Regions from separate parts of the Homo sapiens genome. Here all the other regions are linked to region 1. Evidence: promoter capture Hi-C in 16 types of primary human blood cells and fetal thymus (Javierre and others, 2016). All regions are on one chromosome and are shown on one strand. Each heading gives the region's core, a stretch centred on a gene start or on the middle of the fragment in contact. The rest is flanking DNA. Distances are from core to core; before and after follow the strand shown.

The links. The method cuts DNA at HindIII sites, captures the fragments that hold promoters and counts their contacts. A CHiCAGO score of 5 or more calls a contact.
Region 2: a fragment that was not itself captured here is called in contact with the fragment with the promoter of SPATA46 in region 1 in 7 of 17 cell types (M1 macrophages, M0 macrophages, megakaryocytes and 4 more); the score reaches 26.5 in M1 macrophages.
Region 3: a fragment that was not itself captured here is called in contact with the fragment with the promoter of SPATA46 in region 1 in 7 of 17 cell types (M1 macrophages, M2 macrophages, M0 macrophages and 4 more); the score reaches 9.9 in M1 macrophages.
Region 4: a fragment that was not itself captured here is called in contact with the fragment with the promoter of SPATA46 in region 1 in 1 of 17 cell types (M0 macrophages); the score reaches 5.6 in M0 macrophages.
Region 5: a fragment that was not itself captured here is called in contact with the fragment with the promoter of SPATA46 in region 1 in 4 of 17 cell types (M0 macrophages, M1 macrophages, erythroblasts and 1 more); the score reaches 8.0 in M0 macrophages.
Region 6: a fragment that was not itself captured here is called in contact with the fragment with the promoter of SPATA46 in region 1 in 5 of 17 cell types (M2 macrophages, M1 macrophages, M0 macrophages and 2 more); the score reaches 7.3 in M2 macrophages.
Region 7: a fragment that was not itself captured here is called in contact with the fragment with the promoter of SPATA46 in region 1 in 5 of 17 cell types (M2 macrophages, erythroblasts, M1 macrophages and 2 more); the score reaches 7.3 in M2 macrophages.

What each region holds. Positions count from the first base shown.
Region 1 is chr1:162,375,041-162,378,373 of GRCh38, forward strand. It overlaps SPATA46 (spermatogenesis associated 46), which reads right to left and starts at 1,814. Exons shown (of 3, transcript NM_182581.4): 1 at 1,648-1,814; 2 at 250-363. The coding sequence starts at 1,750. The HindIII fragment of the contact is 3,530 bases long and covers 1,598-3,333 here.
Region 2 is chr1:162,047,094-162,050,419 of GRCh38, forward strand. No RefSeq gene overlaps it. Among named protein-coding and RNA genes, the nearest start is that of NOS1AP, 21 kb to the right of the region's middle. The HindIII fragment of the contact is 475 bases long and covers 1,177-1,651 here.
Region 3 is chr1:162,116,985-162,120,474 of GRCh38, forward strand. All of the region lies in intron 1 of NOS1AP (nitric oxide synthase 1 adaptor protein), which reads left to right. The region is part of intron 3 of LOC105371475 (a long non-coding RNA gene); the gene reads right to left. Among named protein-coding and RNA genes, the nearest start is that of MIR4654, 38 kb to the right of the region's middle. The HindIII fragment of the contact is 3,323 bases long and covers 59-3,381 here.
Region 4 is chr1:162,010,328-162,013,899 of GRCh38, forward strand. All of the region lies in intron 3 of OLFML2B (olfactomedin like 2B), which reads right to left. Among named protein-coding and RNA genes, the nearest start is that of OLFML2B, 12 kb to the right of the region's middle. The HindIII fragment of the contact is 268 bases long and covers 2,087-2,354 here.
Region 5 is chr1:162,030,034-162,033,310 of GRCh38, forward strand. No RefSeq gene overlaps it. Among named protein-coding and RNA genes, the nearest start is that of OLFML2B, 7.8 kb to the left of the region's middle. The HindIII fragment of the contact is 3,654 bases long and covers 1-3,277 here.
Region 6 is chr1:162,088,944-162,092,283 of GRCh38, forward strand. All of the region lies in intron 1 of NOS1AP (nitric oxide synthase 1 adaptor protein), which reads left to right. Among named protein-coding and RNA genes, the nearest start is that of NOS1AP, 21 kb to the left of the region's middle. RefSeq lists enhancers at 2,450-3,045, 3,046-3,340. The HindIII fragment of the contact is 159 bases long and covers 1,183-1,341 here.
Region 7 is chr1:161,961,503-161,965,038 of GRCh38, forward strand. It overlaps ATF6 (activating transcription factor 6), which reads left to right. Exons shown (of 16, transcript NM_007348.4): 16 at 1-2,568. Among named protein-coding and RNA genes, the nearest start is that of OLFML2B, 61 kb to the right of the region's middle. The HindIII fragment of the contact is 727 bases long and covers 990-1,716 here.

The DNA.
Region 1 (3,333 bases), core at 564-3,063:
TCCCTCCACGGCCCACTCAGCCAGAAACTGCTCTTGCACACCAGTTTCAGAGACAGGAGAGGGGAGGCAAGGCGAGAGCCCCAGGCCTGTGGGTGTCTACCAAAGGAAGAAGGGCCAGATAGGAGGCTGCAGGTGACAAGACCGCGCATGGGGGTCCAGCTTCCAGACACCTCTGCTTCCTTAGGGAAGCAGCCCCTTTTCATCCTTAGCCTCTCACACATTCCCGCCCAGAGTCAGAGAAGTCCTCACCTGGTGAGAGCGCTGTGTTCTGTATCCCTTGCCTGACAATGATGCTTTGGTACTGGGGTGGCAGGGCCTGAGCTGGGCTGGATGCCTCAGTGGGTACTGCTGTCTTTGCAATGTCTGGGTTATAGAAGAAACACTGGTGAGCTGAGCAAGGTTGGGATTCCACTTTCTGGGACTCCCCCAGGCATACCTAGGGGCTCAACCTCTGTACTTCAAGGCATCTCAACGCTGAAACAGAACAGTGACCTCTCAAACTCAGCCAGGCAGAGCTATTCTGGATGACATCCTGGGGAATTCTGAATGGGGCCATTTCATTCAGGCCTCAGAAAGATCCTCTGGAAAGTGGGATTTATGATGTAGCCCAGATGACACCTCTCCGCCTGGCCTGCCCCTCACCTAACCCTCCTGCATCTCATCACGCGGATGGCTTCACTCCGCATTGCCAGTCTCCTGAGCATCCTGGGACCCAGAGTCACAGGCTGCAGAGCAATGTTCCATGCCCGCTTTGAGGATTGTCCAGTTGAAACATCTCATACCCACAGTCAGGGTTCCCGTGGGCCATCACTGCACGGCACACCCTGGAGTGCTAACACTTGGACAAAAAGCTGACCTGCCTCAAATCCCAGAATAGCAGCTGTGTTCAGTTTGGGGGACAAATTTATAAATGTCATATATGTAGACAAATGGATGCTTAGGAGGCCTACTCCACTGAGCAGTACTTCTCCATTTTACTGTGCATAGAGATCCCCTAGGGATCTTGTTAATAACACAGATGCTGATTCAGTGGATCTGGGGTGGGAACCTGAGATTCTGCATTTCTAACAAGCTCCCAGACGATGCAGACGTTGCAAGTCTAAGGACCGTATTTTGAACAGGGAGTCCTCAGGGTGTCCAACTTTATTCCATGATGTGCTCATCAGTTTACGCTGCTGCTTAGGCTTCTCTGATTTGGCTAACTCCAAATCCTCTCCAAACTTGTCAAAACAGAGCTAAAACTAGTTTCTACTCTATGTAGACATACTGCCACCTTGAGATTTCATGCACAATCTAGGGGGAAAAACTTGATGATAAATGGAGACTGAGGCAGGAGAATCACTTGAACCCAGGAGGCAGAGGTTGCAGTGAGCCGAGATCACATCATTGCACTCCAGCCTGAGCGACAGGAGTGAAACTCTGTCTCAAAAAAAAAAAAAAAGTTTTCCCCTTTCTTCCCTTACCAAAAATCAATACACAGCAGTAACTACTTACCACAAATGCAGCATTTTGAAAAATTATTTTCTCCCCATGCGTAATTTGACTTTCTCACTAAATCATGGTCCTGTAACATGATCTGGTAGGGTACTCAATTAAAAGCTTCAAAAAAAACCACATCTTTGTGGCCCTAGTGGCACCAAAGTTTACCTGGCAGGCTGGTGGCACGAGAGAACATAATGTCGGGAAAAGCACTCAGGGCGGAGGAAGAGATTGGAGGTCCAGAGATGCTGAGGAGTGAGAAGTTCTCCATATTCTGACCACTGCGGGGGTACAGAGATCACACGCCTGCTCTGGAGAGGCTGGCTGGTTTGTCCAGAGGATAAACATTCTGAGCACAGTTGATGTCACAAGGCACATGATTCCACTACCAACTAGGTTACCCTTTGGAAGATGAATGGAGTCTACTGAAAGCAAGATTAAAATGTGTAAAGATTGTATTTGACTTGCCATTGCCCAGTGGCAGGCCCTGATTGACAATACCCAGAGAGAAGAATGTAGTAGAGATACTGTAGTGATGCTGTCTATTTGTCCCCTTTTATCTTTGTTATCATCAGTTTTCTGTGTTGACACTGTCTACCCCCAGCCCTCCAGCCCTGGAAACCTCTGTCCTGTCTGAATAATCTCCTTCCTTTTCTTCTCCTTTATCAGCCTAATCTCTGTCAGCAAATATTTTTATTGTTTTGTTTTAGTTTGTTTTTTGAGGTGTATATATTTTTCACATTTTCTTTGGAAATTCAAATTTGTAAAAGTTGCAGAAATTAGGCTGGGTGCAGTGGCTCAGGCCTATAATCCCAGCACTTTGGGAGGCCAAGGCGGGTGGATCATTTGAGGTCAGGAGTTCAAGACCAGCTAGACAAACATGGTGAAACCCCATCTCTATTCAAAATATAAAATTTAGCCATGCGTGGTGGTGGGTGCCTGTAATCCCAGCTACTTGGGAGGCTGAAGCAGGAGAGTCGCTTGAACCTGGGAGACAGAGGCTGCAGTGAGCTGAGATAGCGCCACTGCACTGCAGCCTGGGTGACAGAGCGAGACTCCATCTTAAAAGCTGCAAAAAATAAAATCAATACAAAGAACACCCTTATGCCCTGTATCCAGATTTTCCTATTAACATTTTACCCCATTTGCTGTATCCGTCCCCTTCCTCCTGCCCCCTGCCCCATGTGTATGTGTATATACTTAATTTTTTCTGTGAACTATTTGAAGGTAAGTTATAAACACTATGTCCTTTTATACCTAAGTACTTCAATGTGTATTTCCTAAGAATAGGGGCCAAATATTGTTTTCAGTGGTTGGTGCTCTTTTTAGCAAGTGACTAAAGCACAAATGGGTGGCTTACTCAATACTATTTTGCTCATTGCTTAAGTCAGTTTGATGGGGAGACTCTGGGACTCCAGAGAGGCAAGGTTGCCTCTTCGTTTCGCTTGTCCTATAACAACCTTGTGCACTAACGAGGTGTGGAATAAGGTGAAAGATGATTGTGACACTTGGAAGATAAGCTGAAGACACCCCTTTCTAGATTATCACAACATGTCAACTAGATACAGAGCAGGGCTGCAGATCTAGATGGCAGGTATGTTTATGCTGCATGGGGAGCTATGGCCGCTCTGGAAATAGTGATGGGCTTGTTTTGCAGTGCTGTCGAGCATGTGTGAGTGAGGTGTGAGTTAGCTTCTGCACGTGAGAGCCCAGAGTTGTCTTCCTGTGTGTATTTATTCACGGTACTGAAACATTCGAAGGACAATGGGAGAACATGATTCCCCTCGTGTTCCTCCCAGATAGCCTGGTTTGGAACATTAGCATGTATTGGAAAGTAAGTTGAAGCCACATACT
Region 2 (3,326 bases), core at 164-2,663, 330 kb before region 1:
ATTGAAACTCCTGAATATAGTGTTGATGCCTTAAGTGCAGATTATTTTGAATTCAGCTGCGTGTGCTATTGAATGCCTTGGCATGATTCAGTTCTGCCCCCATTTTTCTCTGTCTGAACTACTAAGAAGACTCTATTCCCTGTGACTTCATTGAACTCCACTGGGCTTATATGAAGATGCAAATGCAGACACAAACCTTGAAATATGTGGCAATATTTGATTATATGTTGGTGTTCCAGATGATCCCCAAATATCCTTTTTATTGCTCTTCCTTTTAAAAATGAAACAGAAGCTCAGAAATGTGAACTAATGTTTCGAGGTGGCATAACTACTAAACAGCAGAACCATAATTTGAATTTAGGTATTTTGGCTGCAGTTACAGTGCTTTTCCCATGAGTGTTTCCCAAGGTGATATGCATACTACTGGTGATATATCCGATAATCTTAGGTGATAAGTGGGCAAACATTTTTAACAGTTTTCTAGTTAAATGTTGTTAGAAAATATAATTAATTATACATCAAAACTGCTTCCTCAGATTTTTGCATAGGACAGGGCTAACATAGACAGTGCCACAAAAATCCATCCTAGGACACATAAAACACAAGGTACACTCAGGCAAGTGTATGGATGTTTTCAAATTCCAGTAACTGAACCTTCCATTATATAAATTATTGATGTTAGAGATGATATACATCAGTTACATGGCTTCTCATATAATGAATGCTTGCATCCTTTTCAGTAAAATATTCATCTTTCTTCCATAAGCTCTCAGTTACTTGCAAGATCGGTAAGACTGTTTCTCATATATAATCTATTGCAGCAATAGGAAAAATTACTCACTGATGTAAATACAGGATGTCTTTCCCACCAGAGAATCATATGAATATTTAACAAATCTGCTAAAATTGTCAATCACATTAAGAGCAGCCCAATATATTTTTGACTTTTTCCCCTCAAGATAGGTGGTGACCACAGATGACATTTGTTTTATAGGTGAGTTTAGTGGCCTTTGCAAAAGTCCTCTCTTATCTATTCAAGTTGCAAGAACTTCATGGCTTCCAGAAAGAACTCATCACTCTGTAAAATTATATGCATGATTAAAATTGACTTTGCAAGCTAGCTTATTCCATAGATATATTTGCTCATCTGAAAAACTTGTTTTTCCTCTCAAGGCAAGCTTATGAAAATATATCATGTACAAAACCAAATGCACACAATTCTCACGAAAATGAAATAAGGAATACATGCCATGATTGTGTGGTCTTAGTTTCTTTGTGTTATCTAAATTATCTGGCTCTTTGGATTTCTGAGGTTACCAATAACATCATTTCCTCCTGTATATTCTGTGTGTATATTTACTTTGTGTCCTGTGACTTGTTATATCCATTTATTGGTTCATTTTTTATAGATTCTTCAGGACTTTCTATGTAGATGATCACATTGTCTGAGGATTAAGACAGTTTTATTTCTTTCTTTCCAATCTTGTCTCATTGCATTGCTAAGACATCCAGCATGGTGTTGCATAGAATTGAGAGAAGACTTGTTCCCCATCTTAGAGGGGAATGTATTTAGACTCATCATGAGAATAATATGAGCTGAAGTTTTTCATAGATTTCCTTTTTTATATCATCTATTTTAATTCTCCCATTAAGCTTAGTGTTTGGGTAGAATTGTCTCCATTTACAGATGAGAATACCGAGGCTCAAAGATGTTATATAAATTTCCCACAATCATACAGCTAGCAAGAGGCAATCAAGACCCTGATGCCAGTGCTGTTTCAACTGTATCAGTGATTCCATTTGTCAAGTGTCTGGTGCTTTATTCAATTTAAATCATTCACTTTGGAAACAATTATTGAGCTCATACCATGTGCTATACTTTAAAGGTGCAAAACACTGAACAAAACCTATTTATTTGTATTAATAAGTTTTTAAAACTGAGATGATACCCAAGTAATCTTTTAAGAAAGGTTTGCAAGAGGTTTTTGCATAGATTACTTAGAAAGACAAGAGGAAATCACCTTACTGATGAAAGTAATATATCATCAAGATGACATATCCCATTAAGCATCAAAGGGATGCTAAGTTTTAGTCCTTAAAGCATGAATTTGTGTCTCCAGAGATAATCTGTGACAACTGTGTATTTGATAGCTCTATTTATCTGTATTGAAGAACACACAAATTCCACTTTAAATACAGCTTGTTCTCATAGAACAGCACCATTGGTTTGGTGATTATCATCATCTTCTTTAGCGTTATATCAGAGAATGTCTTTTCTTTCTGATTCTATTGGTAGCTAATTTATTCATATTTTAAGTGTTTTAGATAAGGAGATTTTAATTTTAGGTTTAGTTTCTTTTTATCTTTGTCCATATGTATGTTCTAATTCATTCATTCTAAATTGAGAGATAATTTGCAATGTGAAAATCAGCTCATCTTTCTTTTTCAGGTTATGAATAAATATCCAGAGGGAGATAAAGATTGGAGAAGGGAATCATAGAATGTTAGGACTGAAAGAGACCATGATGGTCACCATATTATTTTACAGCTGAGGAAATTGAGGCTGAGGAAACTTAAGCCACATGTCTAATATTATACAGCTGCTGGCCAAGTGGCAAGGCTGAAACTTAAACTCAGTTCTTACGTCTCCCAGGCCTGTAGTTTTCCTTCTTTCCTTTCTTTCTTTTTCTTTCTTTCTTTCTTTCTTTCTTTCTTTCTTTCTTTCTTTCTTTCTTTCCTTCCTTCCTTCCTCTCTCTCTTTCCCTCCCTTCCCTTCCTTCCTTCCTTCCTTCCTTCCTTCCTTCCTTCCTTCCTTCCTTCCTTCCTTCCTTCCTTCCTTTCTTTCTTTCTTTCTTTCTTTCTTTCTTTCTTTCTTTCTTTCTTTCTTTCTTTCTTCTTTTTTTTTTGACAGGGTTTCACTCTGTTGCCCAGGCTGGAGTACAGTGGCACGATCACTGCTAACTGCAGCCTCGACCTCCCTGGGCTCAGATGATCCTCCTGCCTCAGCCTCCCAAGTAGCTGAGATTACAGGCACATGCCACCATGCCTGGCTAATTTTTGTATTTTTTGTAGAGATGGGATTTTGCCGTGTTACCCAGGCTAGTCTCGAACTCCTGGGCCCAGTAATCTGCTAGCTTCGACCTCCCAAAGTGCTGAGATTACAAGCATGAGCCACCACACCTGGCCCTGTAGTTTCTATTTCCGCAGGCTGACAAACATTAGGTAAGTGGTTGGAATAGTTTACGTTCAGTATCCCTTTCAACTCAGAGAGTCTTTTGTTATTTTATCCCATTATGGGTACAATTATATTATTTCTACATCAGCTA
Region 3 (3,490 bases), core at 470-2,969, 260 kb before region 1:
CATTGTCCGAATCAAAATCAAATTCATTTCATTTCTTAAATTTCTTGAGCTCTCATGAAGCTTCTTGCAGATATGTATACCCTAGCACTAGGGAGTAAGAATGGAGTTAAAAGTGCCCCTGTGGACAGCATTAATCAATTTACTAGGACGTAATCTAATAATCAGAAAATGCTGGCTTCAGTTTCCTGGGGACAGGAGCTCATTTTATGCATTTTGTTCTGTTTGCATAGGCTGTCTCTCCAGATATTGCAGGTTTCCATACATTGGTCCTGTCTTTATCAGATTAATGTCAGGTGGTAGCAGCTAGATTCATCTGTGGATTTACTTGCTGCTGCTTAATGGATTGCGGCCTGTGTCTGACACTTTAGTCTGACTGCTTGGTAAGTCTTTTTTTAAACTGGTGAATTCTTGCCAGACAATTTGCCATTAGTGTTTCTTTCTCTAGACAGGGATGCATGAATTCAGGTACCCTAGCTATCATCCTCTTTGTTTAAAAGGAAGGGAGGGAGACATAGGGAAGTCAAGAGACACATTATGAGCCCTGGCAGACATAACTCAGGACTCCCAGGACTTCCTGCTACCCCTCAGCTGGGACTGCTGACCTCACTCCTCCTTGTCTTTCAGACATGCCACTGAGCACATTGGTGAACAAATGTATCATTGTGCTCCCTGAAATAAAAAGGGGGGCTGGTGCTCTGAAAGCACCTTGTCAGGCTGTAGCTAAAGTGCCTTTTAGTTCTCCTTTCTGCTAAGATCCCAACTGGAACGAGTTGGGGCTGTACCCTTCCAGCTCTTTCAGGAAGGCACGGTACAGGAAAAGGTGCCTAGCCCAGGTTGTGTGTGTGTTGTATGCACACATATGTGTTGGGACACATGGGGCTTCCACTGTCCCCTGGGAGCCTAACGGTCCTTCATGGCTTCTGGTCATCAGATGATGGACAGGTCCACATATCTGTCTTTTGCTTCCACTTTCTTACCACACATCAGTCAGTGAACATTTATCATATCTTCTAGGCACCAGGCGTATCTCATTGTTCTCCTTCACAACGTTGTTATGAGAAGATACAGATAAAAAGATTATGAAATGTTTTATTAATAACAATTGCTTTTTAAAAACTAATTTCAACTTTTTTATAGATTAACAAACACATACAGGTTTGTTCCATGGGTATATTGCATGACATTGAGGCTTGGGGTCCCAATGAATTCCGTCACCCAAGCGGTAAACACAGTACCCAACAGATGGTTCTTCAGCCCACGTCTCCCTTCCACCCTCCCGCATCTAGTGGTCCCCAGTGTCTGTCGTTCCCATATGCACGTTCATGTGTATTCAGTGTTTAGCTCCCACTTATAAGCGAGAACATGTAGTATTTGGTTTTTCCATTCTTGCTTTAGTTTGCTTAGGACAATGGCCTCCAGCTACATCCACGTTGCTGCAAACGACATGATTTCATTCTTTTTTGTGGCTTCATAGTACCACATTTTCTTTTTCCTGTCCACTGGTGATGGGCACCTAAGTTGATTCCACGTGTTTGCTAATGTGAATAGCACTGCAGTGAACATACAGGCAGGCATTTGTGTCTTTGTGATAGAATCAAGTGCTTTGTCTTGCTGATATTACAGTCAACTTTTCATTAAAAAACCCCAAACCAAAAACACTCCAGCTGCTGTTTTTCATGTATAAATAATCAGTATTTGTAAATCCTTTATGCATAACCATTATGTTTTGAATATATATATTAGTCAATTGATGTTTCTCAATTTGCTCCATGTTTACTGAATACCCAGTATGCACCCAGGGCTGTGCAAGAGATTGAGGTAGAGGTAGGGGTGTGTCAGACATCTCTTTTGGACTCTGTGAGTTCTTTTCACTTTTGGACTCCATGAAAACCTCATCTCGGAGCCTTGGCCTCTCTCCTCAGAAAACTCATCAACAGGGAGTGGAATTTAGCATATTATTTCAGGGAGCCCATAGACCTATGAGAAAGTTCATGGGGATTTCTAGGTCCCTATGATAAGAGCCACTTGTCTTGATGATAAGGCAAATCATGTGAGAGCTGGATGGTAATTTTGCCATCATCTGCTGCATTTTGGGAGGTAGAGCTACTACTTTTGAGGCCCTCATAGAATGTTTTTCTTTTTAAGAATGATCTAGAAACTGAAATAGTTTCCTGTCATAATAACCGGAAGAGAGGCTGCTTGGGGTCCATGGATGGGAACTCTTCCAGTAGCCCATGAGGAATAGCAGCAAGAGCTCTGGAGAAAGTCTCTCCAGGCATTCTAGAGAGTCTTTACTTTCCTCCAGTTTGGAAATGGGGTCTGGCAGCTCAGTGTCTGACACTGGCAATATGGAACCTGATTAACCTAGAAGGATTTACTACACAGACATATTCTGCAAGCATTGAGCTCGTGTGTCTGCTTTTCCCTAAGAACTGTATATGGTGTCCTTGCTTTTAGTTTCTGTTTAGATAAAGCAGAAATCTCTTTTGGGTTTACTCCGCATTCTATAAAAGCCAAAAAACAAAACAAAACAACAACAAATGGTAAAATATAAGCAAAGGACTCGTACTGCTGCTATTCTTTTTTTATTTAAAAATTGCCAACAGAAAGAGGGTTCAGTCAGTTTAAGAGAAGTATTAGGAACCTACTTGCATGGCTCTTTATTCTTCCCTTACTAAAAATTTATCGTAGTCTCCCTAATTCTTTATGCGGCTCTAGCTTTCTCTTGGATCCCAGAGTACTTAACAGCCAGGGCGAGGGAATCTCTCTCTTGTCTTTGTGAGGTATTGAAGGGTAGCAAAAGGTATTCTTTTCAGATGAGGGGATTTACAGAGGCACTTGGAATTGCGTAGAATCGTCCTCTGAAGACTTGAAGAGTGAAACATATTAGGGATCCTTGGCTTGTTGTAAAGGAAACGGATGGCATGGGGGAGGCAGCAGAGATGGTAACAGTTGGTATATGGCCAAAGTGACAAGTACGAACCTATCCTGTGAATAATAGGATGTCTTTGGTGCTGCTGGTGGGAGTGTAAATTGGTACAACCTCTTAGGAAAGCAACTTGATTTTATATATATGTATATGCATATGTATATGGTATATACATATGTATATGATATATACACATGTATATGTATATGATATATACACATGTATGTGTATATATATGTATATATCAAAATATACCCTTTAGCTGAATAATTCTTTAAGCTGTGAATCTATTCTAAAGAAATAGCCTAAATATGGTAAAATATTTTTTGCATTATATCTTTACATTCATCAATTTTATTTATAATAATGAAAAATGGAAAGACAGCTTAAGTGCTCACAATTGAGGAATTTTTATGTAAGTGGCCAAATGATAAAAATTTATGCAGTTATTAAGCTTGTTTACAAACAGGGAAACAAGGAAAGAATTGGGAACCTGGTGAAGGAAATGAGGAGAGAATTTGTATTAGTCCATTTTCACTCTGCTGATAAAGACATGCCTGA
Region 4 (3,572 bases), core at 971-3,470, 360 kb before region 1:
GTCCACTGGTGCCACACTGCCAGATGGGAACAGGTGTCCACTGCTAACTTCAGCCAGATGCACACACACCAGAGGGAAGAGAACGTGCAAACAAGGCAGGGACCCTTGGCAAAGGGGAACCGGATGCAGGTGGAGTTAGGGGTACAGCCATCAGTCAGCCCTAGTCAGCATGGCTGGTGTTTTGACAAGCCATGTAGGGCCAGCACAACCAGATGTGTAGACCGATGGAATGGGTATGAAGGACACAGACCGTATCCTGACCTTGTCCAGCTCTTAGACACGTGTGCGTGTGCCCGGGTGAGACCGTGTAGTATCTTAAGCCAAAACCTTGGGACCAGGGGAAAGATGACCATGGGGCAGAATTCTGGCAGTTCTCTGTGGTCTCGTTTTTACAAATAGAACCAGGGACAGGGGTGTGGTCGGGGGAGGGTGCTGGCTCTGGAGATCAGGTGTAAACCCACACCACAGTCATGGCCTACTTATATAACCACATAGGGCAAGGGATGAAACCTCTCTAGGCCCCAGGCAGGAAAAGAAGGAATGATGACACCTACCTCACCCAAGCTTGGCACAGAGATGGATAAGGGGCTGCATGTGGTACAGTGCTGGGCAAGGAAATCAGGCTTGAGGCATGTGGGTGAAGCTGGAGTGGGAGGGACCCTTGGGGTCTCCATAGCAGACATGCAGGTGGAAAAGGAAAGGGAAGCCAGGGTTTGGTATGGCTGGCATGGGGAGGAAGGTAAGAACCCAAGGCTGGTGTGCTGTAGAGAGACACACTAGACACCTGTGGGAGTAGACAAAGCCAGACTGCAGGTGAGGCAAACCCTGGCCCCAAGTCACACAGCAGGTGCACACAGCCATATCTAAGGAGGCTGCCTGGGAGGCTGCCTGGTAGGTCCTGTGGGCATCAGGATTCCCTGGCAGATAGCTGGATGCGCACAGGGCTAAGATACAGATGGCAAGCCCAAGGGCAGATGGGACATAGTTTCTCATGGGAGTGACCTGAGCAAGTGTGAGGGTAACTGGACCCAAGGGGGGAGGGCTCGTAGTTCCCATCAGCTCACCGTGCTCAACCTTTGCACCCTCCAGGAGACAGCTACGACCAGATGGCCTGGGACAGCAACCCCAGCTGACAGCTGTCTCCTAGCCCCTGGTAAGAGAGCTGGGGAAGAGAACAGCTGGAAACAGCCGGTGCTCCTGATGGCAGGACAGGCAGGCCATGGCCTAATCCCTCCGACCACAGCTGATGGGAGAGACAGGCAGGCCTGGGTTCAGGGAGCCACCAGCTGCCCCATTGAACATTCATCCAACCAAACAGCTGTGGAGCATCTGTCCCACATCAGGTGCTGGACCAGGGCCTGGGAAACAAAGATGACTTGACCCAGCTTGCCCTTAAGAAGTCCAGGGCCTGGCAGGAAAGTCAAACAAGGCAACAGCAAGAAGACCCAGGCCTCTGGTGATGAATTTCTATATTAGGGTAATCTTACCCCTTAAAATAGAGCCACTCGAGCCATGCACACTTGCACATCCTGGCAGCTCTAAACTGTTCCTAGGCCGACGGATGGAGGGCTGACACTCGCACTGTAAGTCTCTTCAGCCAAGAAGAAAACTTTATATCCCACAATTGCAAATTAGATTTGAAGTATATACAACCCTGGGAGAGGTAATATATTGGCTTTAACTCATATTAAGATGTAAATTGAATTAAATAGTGTTAGGCTGAAATATATTTTAGAAACACTAACTTCGACCCTCTGCCTTTTCACGTATAAGGACACTGAAGTCAGGCCGGGTAAGCAGTGCCCCTCTCCAAGCCTTCACTTGAGGAAGAAGAGTGAAATGACTTACAGCAAACCCCTCGGAAAGAGCAGATTTGATCAGGAGAGTGAGCCCTGGGGGTGTCTCGACAGGGGTGGAGGGTGGAAGGAAAGGTAGGGCTTGGAAAGAGACAGCTCCCCCAACTCACAGCCAAGTCTGCACAGATGAAAATTACGTTTTCCTATTAGCTGGTGAAACGATATATCCCCCAGGGTCAGGAATGCTTCTTTGATCATGCCTTTCAGTCCAGAAACACAAAAGCCACCAAAGCTTTAGGTGTGGGGGAGAAGCCCTCAGCAATGCCTGTGCCAGTACATTCTGGGGAGCGGACCAGTTCTGGGTCTGGTAAATCCATCGTGGACTTAAATCTTCCTCGGAGGCAACATTATCAGGAGAAAAGTCTTCAGCTGGGACACAAGGTTCCCTCGTGCCATCTATGCTCATGGGTGTGGTTTGCAAATTCCAGCAGGTAGATTCGTGAAAAAGGAAAGAGATACACACACCAGAAGGGACAAAGCAGAAACCACGCTATGGAAAGCTTGCAGGCATGCATCTATTTTAAGAGCATGGGCTATGCACCCACACATATACAAAGGCACATGTGTACATAAGCATTTCAAGCACTTATAAACACTTACAGGTATCCTGCAGCAAGGTGGGGGTGGGACATTTCTTCATAAAATTTGCAAATTTTACAGAAATGACTGAAACCAACTAAAGCCTTGATGCTAGAAGATTATTATAATGATCTGTCCCTCTGTTTGTCTTTTTCTCCACTTTAGTAATAAATCTGCCCCTGGAAGCAGTATGTGCTGCTAGGGGTTGAACACCATGCCTCTAGTCCTGCTGCCTTCAGAATCCACCTTTAGGCCTGGCAGCCTACAAGTCTATGGGTCTCTGAGTGCACTCAGAGCCCGGATGAAGTCTTTTCTTGAGCTGAGTGAGTGCCACTGCCAGCTCTGTATGCAATGAACAGGGCTTGCCTTTGCCTTTGGAAGTTACAGGTTTTCTTTCTAGACTTTTAACTCCTATCTCTTCAGATACTTATGTTCTGTGCCCACCCACCCCTCAACTCCAACATGTACCTACACTTCCTGCATGCCCTTCCCCTTCCCAGCCACTCACAGGAAGGAGAGGTCAGCTGGGGTCTATGTTGGACTGCTGACCACCTTGAGTGTTTCTTATTCCTGGAGCAGTTTTAAAACTGGTTTATGAGGTTTCAGACCTCCCCCAGTGAACTGGAAAGATATTTTTGGAGTTAAGTTTCTAGAACACAGTGAAATGACCCTACTAAGTTATAGCCTCCAAATTGACAAAAACTAGAAAGTCTGACAATACCAAGTGTTGGTGAGGATGTGTGCAGAACTTTTATACCCTGCTGGAGGCAATGTAAACTTATACTACCACTTTGGAAAACAGTTTGGCAATATCTCCTGAAGTTGAAGATAAGCATAACTAATGCTTATCTTCTAGTTCCACTTATCTAATGTACCATAGAGAAATGCAGGCACACATGCACCAGGGTACATGCACAGGGATGTTCATGTATAGGAATGTCCATAGGGCTATTCTGATTTACGCATTCAGAAACTGGAAACAATCCACATACCCATCATCAGGAGAACAGATAAATTGTAGTATATTCATACAATAGAATACTACACAGCAATAAAAATGAATGAACCACAAGACACAAAAACAACATAGGTAAATATTAAAAATATAAAGTTGAGTGAAAAAAGCCCAACACACAC
Region 5 (3,277 bases), core at 363-2,862, 350 kb before region 1:
CACTGACAGGATGGCCAAGGTAATGGCCACCCAATCCAACTGTCTATGGGAGGAGAGTGGTGTCAGGGTGCTCTGGGGGACCTTCCAGGAGGAGCAGGAGTTTGCCAGGTAAAGGACAATGGTGCCTGAGGGACAGAAGTAGGGAAGTGGGGTCAGGGAAAGAAGGTGTGGAGGAGGAGAGAAGGGCATTCCAGGCCAAGGGGACCACAAGGACTGGGATTTCAAGATATGAAGGTTGTGATGTAGGCAGAGGCTGGAGTGTAAAATACAAGACGAAGAGTGAGAGGAAATGAAGTTAGTGAAAGAGTGAGAGGCCAGGTTGTGGAGGCCTTTACGTGCCATCCCAGAGAGCTAGGAGTATGTCTCACAGGCACTGAGGGGCCATTGACAGATTGGGGGCAAGAGAGTGCCATTGTCAGACTTGCAGATTAGATGAATGACTCAGGTGGTGAAGAGTGGACAGAAGAGAGAAAGGCAGAGCAATGACTGCAATTCCCTGCCTGCAGACCACTTGGCCTCCTGGAATGGCTCTGCCTGAGCCAGAGTCCTGTGCTGAGTGGGTCATTGCTCTGACTCAAAGGGAAGCTCCCTTGCCCTCTATAATTGGTGGTGACTAAAGGAGGGATAGGTAGGCAGAGATTCTGCCTTTCCAAGGAATTTTCCAGGGCTGCTACATGGCACAACTCTAGGGGATACCATTCATATCATAGTCCCTGTGAATGGGGCCCCTGAGAATCATGCAAGGCATGTCTGGCAACCACTGAACACTGTCCTGGGACAGGTCAGGAACATTGCATACAGCCCATTGCTTTCTACACACCATGATCTCTCTCTCTCTCCCTCTCTCCTGGTTCTAAGAGACCGCCGTGCTCAGGGCAGCTCCTACACATGATGTAGTGTCCGTGTGGTGTGCTTTTTCAGGGCACTCACACACCTCCCCTGCATTCTCACAGAAGCCTGATAGCCCTTTACTAGGGCTAATGAGTTCTGCCTTCAGTGATGAATCTCCACATGCAGATACTCCTGGAAGAGGTGATTCATTGCCTTAAATCTATACCAGAGAGTAAATAACAGGCCCCTTCCTGAGAGCTGGTTTTGCTAGAAAAGTAGCAGTGGAAGACACTGAGAAGTCAAAAGGCCTTGTTTATGGGACAACCCCAGAGAGGCAGAAGTAGAGAAAAGGAAGACCTGGCCCATGCATTACCACCTCTTAGACTTAGAATTGATGTCTAAGGGCTCATATTTATTCCTGATCAGCAGGGATGAATAGAAGCTGGTTGAGAAAAGGCTGGGAGAGGAGTGTGCCAAGTAGAAGTCTAGAGACTAGAAAACGGTGATGAGTTACTGGGAAATGCAAGCTCAGGTGGAACACAGGGGTCACAGCAGAGGGAGAGAGGGGATGCAGCGAGCAGTTAGAGTGGAGGGCCAGATCACACGAGGCTTGTGTATGTGCTGTGGAGTTTGGAGTTCAAGCCAAAGGCTATGAGAATTCTGGTAAGCAAGGGAGTGAACTCTAGTAGGTGGCCCTGGCAGTGGCACAGAGAATGAATGGGAGAGTCAGGCTGAAGTAGGGAGAGCTATTTGGAGGCTGTTGTAGAAATCCAGGCACGGATGGGGAGGCTTTGATAAAGGCAGTAGCATGGAGGTGAAGAGAAAGGGGTGGGTATGAGATATACCAAAAAGGTGGAATTAGTGGGACTTGGTGACTTTCTGGATATGGAGGTGAGAGAGGGGAAGGATGTTAGTTTAGATTCCTGCTTGTAAGTTACAAGCAACTTTATATAGATTAAAGGAAAAAAGGTGTTGGGGGTAAAGGAGACTTTATTATAAGGATGTAGGAGTGTCTCACAAAACCCAAGGGCTCTAATGTCACTGGGGTCATCAGAGGCTCATTTGAACCTAGGACATCTCTGGTCCACACAGTAGACTGAAGGTGCCCGGTCAGAGTTACTTGAATATTGAGTGTGGTTAGTTTTCCTTCTCAGGCCCAATTCCAAATGCCCAGGGAAGGCCTTGCTCTAAAATGGGTCAGATGCCCAATCCTGAACTAATCAACTAAGGCGGGGGGCAGGGGGACAGGTCACTTGGTAGAAACAAAGTGGAAAGAGGGGCAGTTTCTAGGGAGGAGCTGCTAGACCAGACAAATCAATGGATGTCCACTCTCTCCTATTCCATTGCTGGCTGGCTCTCTGCCTCCTTCTACTTCTGAAGATGTACTTATTTAGCATAAATTAATCATCTTATAGAAAAGTATCTCCCCGTAAGAGACAACCCAACTTAGTATCCAGGAATGGCAGAAGCAACTCCTCTGTGTGCCTCTCTCTCCAGGTGATATTTTTTTCCTCCTCCTGCTTGGCTTGTTCTAATCCAGATGTGATGTCTCACCATCCTACAGCCAACAGACTAAATGGTAAATTTAACCTGGTGTGTATACATGCAGACCTCAGCTTGCTATAGATATTTCACTTGGTAGATTAATCACTGAAAATATTTAGTCAATACACTTGCTCATCCATACATTCATACATTTGAATATGAAATTAAATTACATTCATGCACCCCTCCATTCTTTGGGGTACATGAATGTAACAATTTTAGCCTTGTCAGGCAGCCTAGAGCCATGACAGAGTCTGGGATGTAGGGTTAGACAGACTGGCTGTGGAATTCTGGCTCCACCATAACTGCTGTTGACCTTGGGCAAGTCACTTCATCTCTGTGAGCCTCAGTTTCTTAATACTAAGGTGGGGATCATAAAAATATTCACCTCTGCTTACTGGTGCTTACTGCTAACCACATGTTCCTTTCTTTATCCCTTTAGAAATGAAACCCCAACCCTCAATTGGAAGGCTGAAAATAACAAAGAATGTAAAGATCACAGAAGGCTTAACAAAGGGTAAATCTTAGATTTAGCATCGAGGGGAAACTTGGACGCTAATATGAAGGTGAAGTCTTACTTGGGAGCAAGAGAGATGAGTCTAGTCTCAGCTTTATGGGGGCTTCAAAACCACAGACCCAGGTTCAAATCTCAATGCTGCAACTCATATGGTGGGGAATCTTGGGCAAGTTGTTTTTTTCTAAGCCGTAGTATTCTAACAGTACTAGGTTGTTGTGGAGATAAGAGATGTATGTAAAAATGTCCAACCCGTTGCTTGCCCCATTCACAAATACATGTTGAATGTTGAATGAATTTTAAAATAGTAATCGTTTATTAGATAGAGATAATTATAATCATGCCCATTTCAGACTCACCAGGTGAACTGATTAGGACCTCTGTCTG
Region 6 (3,340 bases), core at 12-2,511, 290 kb before region 1:
TTTTCTCTCCCTCTCGCCATTCTCCTTCCCCTTCATCTCTCTTCCACTCCTTGTGTATTTTGTGTCTCAGACCTGGAATCAATCATTTCTCCAGGAAGACCTGGTATCTTTTAATGCAAAATTGTATTTCAAGACCATTATCTTGGCACCAGGGATGCTAATTTTTATTGAGTTGGCCATTGTCTGTAGGTCTTTTTTGGTGAACAGAGCTGGGAAACTACACATAAGGAAAGAGCAAGGATGAATGTGATAGATGTAAACATACTTGTGTGTTCATACTGATATTTCCAATATCTTAACTACTTCTGTATTTCATCTGATCTTTTGTCCACACTGAGAATTCTGGTTTTCAAATACATAGGGAATAACAGAATCCAATATTCCATAATTACTCACTTGCTTTATCCTACACTACACAATTAGGAATCTCAGAATAGTAGTACAAACACCAGCACCAATTATGATTACTGAAAACAGTCCAAAACCTTTTAAAAAATATGTCATCTGTATCCTTCACCATCTTTTAAAATGGTTATACTGTATTATTGTGATACTCTGAGTAATGGTCCCTCAAAAAGTATTCATGTCTTAATCTCTGGAATCTGTGAACGTTACTTTACATGACAAAGACTTTGTATATGTGATTAAGTTTAGGATCTTGAGATGGTGAGATTATCCTGGATTATCTGGGTGGGCTTTAAATATAGTCACAGTTGTCCTTACAAGAGGGAGGGAGGGGGAGATTACACACAGAAGAGGAAAAGACAGTGTAACCACAGAGGCAGATATTGGAGTGATGTGGCCACAGCCAAGGAAGGCTGGCAGCCTCCAGCAGCTGGAAGAGGCAAGGAATAGTTTCTCCTCTAGAGCCTCTGGAGGCCGTGCAGCCTGCCAACACCTTGATTTAGGCCCAGTGAAACTGACTTCGGACTTCTGTTCACCAGAGTTATAAAAAATAAATTTCTGTTGTCTTAAGCCTGTAGCTTTGTCATAGTTTGTTATAGCAGCCCTAGTTAACTAATACAATCATATAGTCATTACACATTATAATATTTCCTTTTTAACCCTCATTTAGTTTTTAGTTCTTCAATAATTACATATTTAATACTTACTACCAAAACTTACATTCTTGTTTCTAGTCACTTTGATTATCCAAAGTTCTTCTCTAGTATCCTTAGGAAAAGCTTATGGAAACAATATTCCCTGATTTTTTTTTTCTGAATGTTGATAACATTTTATCTATGCTCTTTGTATGCGAAAGGTCAAAACTGCTGAATATTAAATCTGTGGTTGACATTTTTTAAAAAATCTTAAGTGTTATTCCATCTACTTCTGGCATAAAGCTTGTTGTAAATCTGATCTAATTTTTCTTTTCCTTATAATTTGTATACAGTTAAAATTAGATGCTGCCTAAATTATCTTTTGTAAAAAAAAAAAAAGTCTGAGAATTTTACTAGAGTATATGTTGATATTATTCTGAGTCAGTATTCTCAGGTAAACAATATGTTCTTTCAATATCAGGTTTCAAATAGTTTTTTTCCAGGAAAGTTTTCACAGACTACTGTTTTTAGAATTATATTCCTTGCTTTGGTTTTGTTCTTCCGGAACCACTCTTATCCATATGTTGGTTCTTGTTTGCCTATCTTCGATGTTTGTCACTTTCAAATCCCTTTGATCTCTTTCCTATTATTTCTTTTTAATTAAAAAATTTCCCTAAGTTTCAGGCAGTTTTTAGGTTTATTTTTTCTTATATTTCTTCTAGTTTAGTTTTTATCTCTAAAATAGTTTTCTTTTTTTACTTTGCTTTCTTGAGTTTTGTCACTTTATTTCTGAATTTTTCTAATTCTAATTTATGTTGTTCTTTCATGCCTTGCATAATTTAAAGTATTTTTAGCTTATTTAAAAATATGTCTTTTTGGCATGCTTTCACTATCACATATTTCTAAGGATGTTATTTTGTTCCTTATTCTCTCTTTTTTTATAGAAATGTTTATGGATTTGACCTTGTTACTTTTCTGTTGTTAATTTTTATGTAAACTTAGTTTTCCTGAATTTTAAAAAGGAGGGTTGGTTTGGTAGTATTTCTAACTGCACAGAGAAATGGAGATTTAAAAATCTCTTGTTTTCATGGAGATTTAAAAAATGTGGTAGTTCTGTTTCCATCTCTCTCTTTTACCTGAGCCTTCTCTTTTCTTTGTCTCTGTTGCCTGTCCTGCTTCATTTTGATTCTGTTCCCAGCAGTTTCTCTTGGTGTGGAGTCCTGTCCTGGGCAATCAGTTTTGAGAGTTCCTAGTGGCTTGAGTGCTCCAGCCCTTCGAACCTCCTGTGGGTCCCCTGTTGTTCCAGGTTCAGCGGCAGTTCTCCAGTTTACCCTATTGGCTCTTTTGGGTTCAGGTTCATCATATGCCCCATTGCTTCCCTTTGATTGTTCCCACATAGACATCAATATCATACTGGCTATTGGTGATTTGTCTCCGATAACTTGTCACCAAATTTTGTTGAGTGTCATCCATGAGTTTTTAAATTTGCTATTTAGTTGCTCTGTTTATTTTTTGTAGAGACTGTGGAAGACTCAATAAATATATTGCCACCATTTTCCCAGAATTGGGATATTGCTTTTAATTTTCACTACAGTGTGGCAAGTTGCTGACTGAGATTTTAAGTTATTTTTCCCCCATGGAGCAGCAAAACATATAAAGATTTGAGAACATAGGATAAGGAATGAATAAATCCTGCTTATGTGTAATTACATTTGAGCAACATGTTGATGAACAGCTAAGGGAAGACAGAGATCACAAGTTTCCTCCTCCCACTCCTCAAAGAGAGAGGGCACTTTACACAGCCCAGGAGCATGTGGAGTGCTGTGCAGTCTTGCTGTGTTCTGGCTGTTTGCTCTAATTGATCTGTCAACCACTACGTGGGCATTAAGTAATTGGGATGTGACTTCACTGGGGCAAGGTGGGGTGGTCTGCAGAATATACAGGAAGAATCAAATATAGAATCACGGAGTGCTGGAGTTGGAAGGGACCTCAGAGATCACCTCTGAGATTAGGTCCTAAATCAGCTCTGTTATTTTGCAGATGAGGGGGACTGAAGTACAAAGAGATGAAAGTGACTAGTTCAAGGCTGTGGATCCAACAAAGGATGGGATTGGCATTGCAGCTTGTCCTGAACTCTCCCAGGCCACATTCCAGTCTCTCAAACCCCAGCTTCCCTGTTGAGTAATGAGTAAACAGACTATTGTAAAACGAAGAGGACTTTTATAGAGTAAATTGAAGGGTATTCATTCATTCTTTTGTTTTAGGAAGTTCAGTGTTTCAGCTAGTGGATTTTCTTAAGA
Region 7 (3,536 bases), core at 103-2,602, 410 kb before region 1:
GTAGTTTTTATTTTAATGTTTGTATGCACAAGGCCCTTTAGGAAATGAGAAGTTGCCATGCCAGATTAATTTTTTTTTTTTTTTTTGGTGGGATTGCCTTTTGGGGGTTGCAGCCAGAAATTGTGGGTAATGTGTGTATTTTTTTATTTATTAAATTTTAAACAGGATTGTGCAAGCTTATGAGACAATTAGATAAACTCATGGAGGAGGCAGGTCCTCCTGTTATTAGATGATTTTGTGCTCTTGGGGCTGACAATAATACACTCTTGGGAAGTGATGGTAGAGACTGATGGGAATAGTCTTTCTGCCTGGTTGCAAGTCCCAAATTTTTAAGGGTTAATGGAAGTAAGTGGATGTTTCCTCATGTTAACTACTGAATCAGATGTTAGGAGCTTGTCCCTTTGGGGTTGACTTATGCCCAGCAGTACAGGGACACAGCTTCATTAGAGTGTTAGTGTAAACTAACTCCAAAGTTAGGAGTTAATGTGAAAGGATCATCCTTGAAACAAATCTGCTGTTTGCCATGCTTGTAGTACAGAAACTTCACATGGAGTTTTGGGTGGGATTTGTGTTTTCACAAGTAAAAAATCCCTCACGATTATAAAACTCAGAGCATCATCTAATTTTTTTTTTTAATGACTACAAGTTCCAGCACAAAACTGGCATTTCTTTGCCATTTCTTGCCAGTAAGAAGTTGACACGGAGGTATTTGAAAGCAATGTTATGTGAGTCATTCTTAAGTGTTCCAAGTAAGTTTAGAAACAGAAAAGGAACTTGGGATTCAAATTGATTTTTCAAATCATTTTTAAAGAGACATCATCCTGACTAAATCTTAGCCTGAACCTTCCTCCCCTGTGTGTATTCCCCGGTAGTCACCGCAGCGAGATGCTGGTGAGACTGCCGTGGTGGCATTTAGCATCGTTAAAACTGGAAAACTCTCAAGCTCTTTGCCACTTTCCTACTATTTTTTGATTCTTGCCATTTTACCAAGCTTAGGTTGTGAAACTTGACAGAAATGTATTACAGGAAAAACTTATAATTGTATTTGACTTTCTAACACATTGCAAAGTTTCAAAGTGACTTTCACTTTCAACAACATATTAGAAGTAACCACTTTTGCTTTCACAGCCTGAAGAGTTAGAGCCTGATCTGATGCCCCCTTTCACTCTGAAGTCATGGGAAATTTTCCAGCCATGAAAGCCCTCTTTCCACTGCATACTGATGGGCTGACTCAGCTTCCTTCAGCCGACTGAGATCTTTTCATACTATTGGCTATTTCATACCAATTAACCTCTTAAATAAGATTGTGAATTGCCAAAATTGATAGACACTTATTACCACCTGTGGACTCCATATTCCTTACCACAAATGTTATTTTCATCAGTCCTGAGTCATTTTAACTTACAGAAATTAGGATTGTTGCTGCTAATATGAATACCAATTATAACTTTTAGAAACAAGAATAAAGCCTAAAAGAGAATGAAATATAAGAAATGTTCGTTCCCACCCCTAATAACATTTGGAAGTGAATATTCCCATTTTCTTCCACCCACAGGGATTGGGATTGATTTTTAATTTCCTAGGAAACAATACTAGACTACCCAAAAAGATGTTGCCAGAATCCAAAAGGAACTATGCTCGTAAAAGAAATGCAGTTTTCTCCTACCTAAAAAAAAGAAAGTAAAGTGTGTTCTGTTCTTATCTTTTTAATGACTAAGCTTTAAACAGTTTATTTTGGGTAAGACTAGAACTTTCGGCCATTTGTTCTAATATGTGTGTTATTAGATGCAATAGAATTTATGAAAAGAAGAATGACAAAGGTATCTGATTAGAAAATTTGATCTTACGCATGAATCCATGTCATGGCCAGCCACTGTCACATAGTGGGTGCCATTCTCAACATATTGGTTTGCTAACTTTAAGCATTAGGGATTTAGCACACTAAAATACTTTTAATTATATTAGGTTTGGTAACTAAGGAGTAAATAAATCATAATTTATCATTTGCCAAGGCCAACAAACAACACTATTGTGCTGTTTGCTCTCAATGAAGTTGAATAAACCAGGAGGCTTGGCATATCCCCTTTATGTTAATCCCAGCTAGAGATTAGTAGGTTGACTTTCACAGCAATTGTATATTGATCCATTTTAACTCATCCTTGCCATAATTTCCAGGCCAGTCACCAGGACAGAGGAGATGATGGGGAAACAGAGCTTTAGATGAAAACTACTATGCACTACTAGCCTTAGAGGCACTGGTTTCCTGTTACCACTTTGGCAAGTATGGATGGTCTAAGTCCAGTAGGGCTTCATCCATGGAGCCATTAGAACTGAGGGGGGAGTGTTAGAGATGCCATTTCACCAGGATCTTTTTGCTCAGGTTGTACCCATGCCAATTGAAGAACGTGTTAAAGATGAGGAGGAGAGATGTACCATTCTCTCCCTTAATAATGATGTTGGTTTGCAAAACCTAAAGAAATAATAACAACAGACTATTTCATACTTTCAAGCAAGTCTTTATACTACCTGTTATTTCTCTAAAATTCAAATAAAGAATTTTTAAACTTACCTTGTTTATTCTGTATGTAGAAAGAGAGAAAAAAGCCCCCAAATGAATCTTCAGTGTTGGGGGGTTAGTAATGGGAAAGGAAGCCTGAAAAGGCTTTGTGGCTTGTGTTACTGTTCAGATGAAACTGTTGAACTATTTTCCACTCTTCTCCCAAGCCTAATTAAGTAAAAATTTCCTTTATTTAAGTGTCCAGATATTTAAACTACAATCTTATCAAGGAAAAAAAAATCTAAAAACCCATATTTTATCTATGTCTTCAGGAAAGTGGGTTACTCGGTCACGCATCTTGTCCTCACCAAAGGCCTCTTCCCAGCTTGCAATGGCAAATGCCACCACACCTGAAGCTAGTCACTGCAGACTGACAGCAAGGGATCCATCCAGGAGTAATTAATGCAGGCATTTACTGAGCACCCAATGATTACCTCTGACACTGGTTTATTAACTATATTATCTTATTTCAATCGTCTCTACATCCTATTTTGTAAGATGGTTATTAATAAGTAGTGGAGCTGGCTGGGTGCAGTGGCTCACGCCTGTAATCCTAGCACTCTGGGAGGCCAAGGCAGGTGGATCACCTGAGCTCAGGAGTTTGAGACCAGCCTAAGCAAAATGGTGAAACCCTGTCTCTACAAAAAATACAAAAATTAGCCAGGCATGGTGGCAGGTGCCTGTAATCCCAGCTACAAGCTACATGGGGAGCTGAAGTGGGAGGATCACTTGAACCCAGGAGGCGGAGGTTGCAATGAGCCAAGATCACATCACTGCACTCCTGCCTGGGTGACAGAGTGAGACCCTGTCTCAAAAATAAAAATTAAAAAATAGTGGCCCAATATTTGGGCCCAGGCAATTATGTGAATTATTCACCATTATATTATTCCACCTGCTGATACATAGATCTGGCATAAGTTCATGCCCTAAAAGAGCTCACAGTCAGCCCATGGAGCCATATACATAAATTACAAAACTA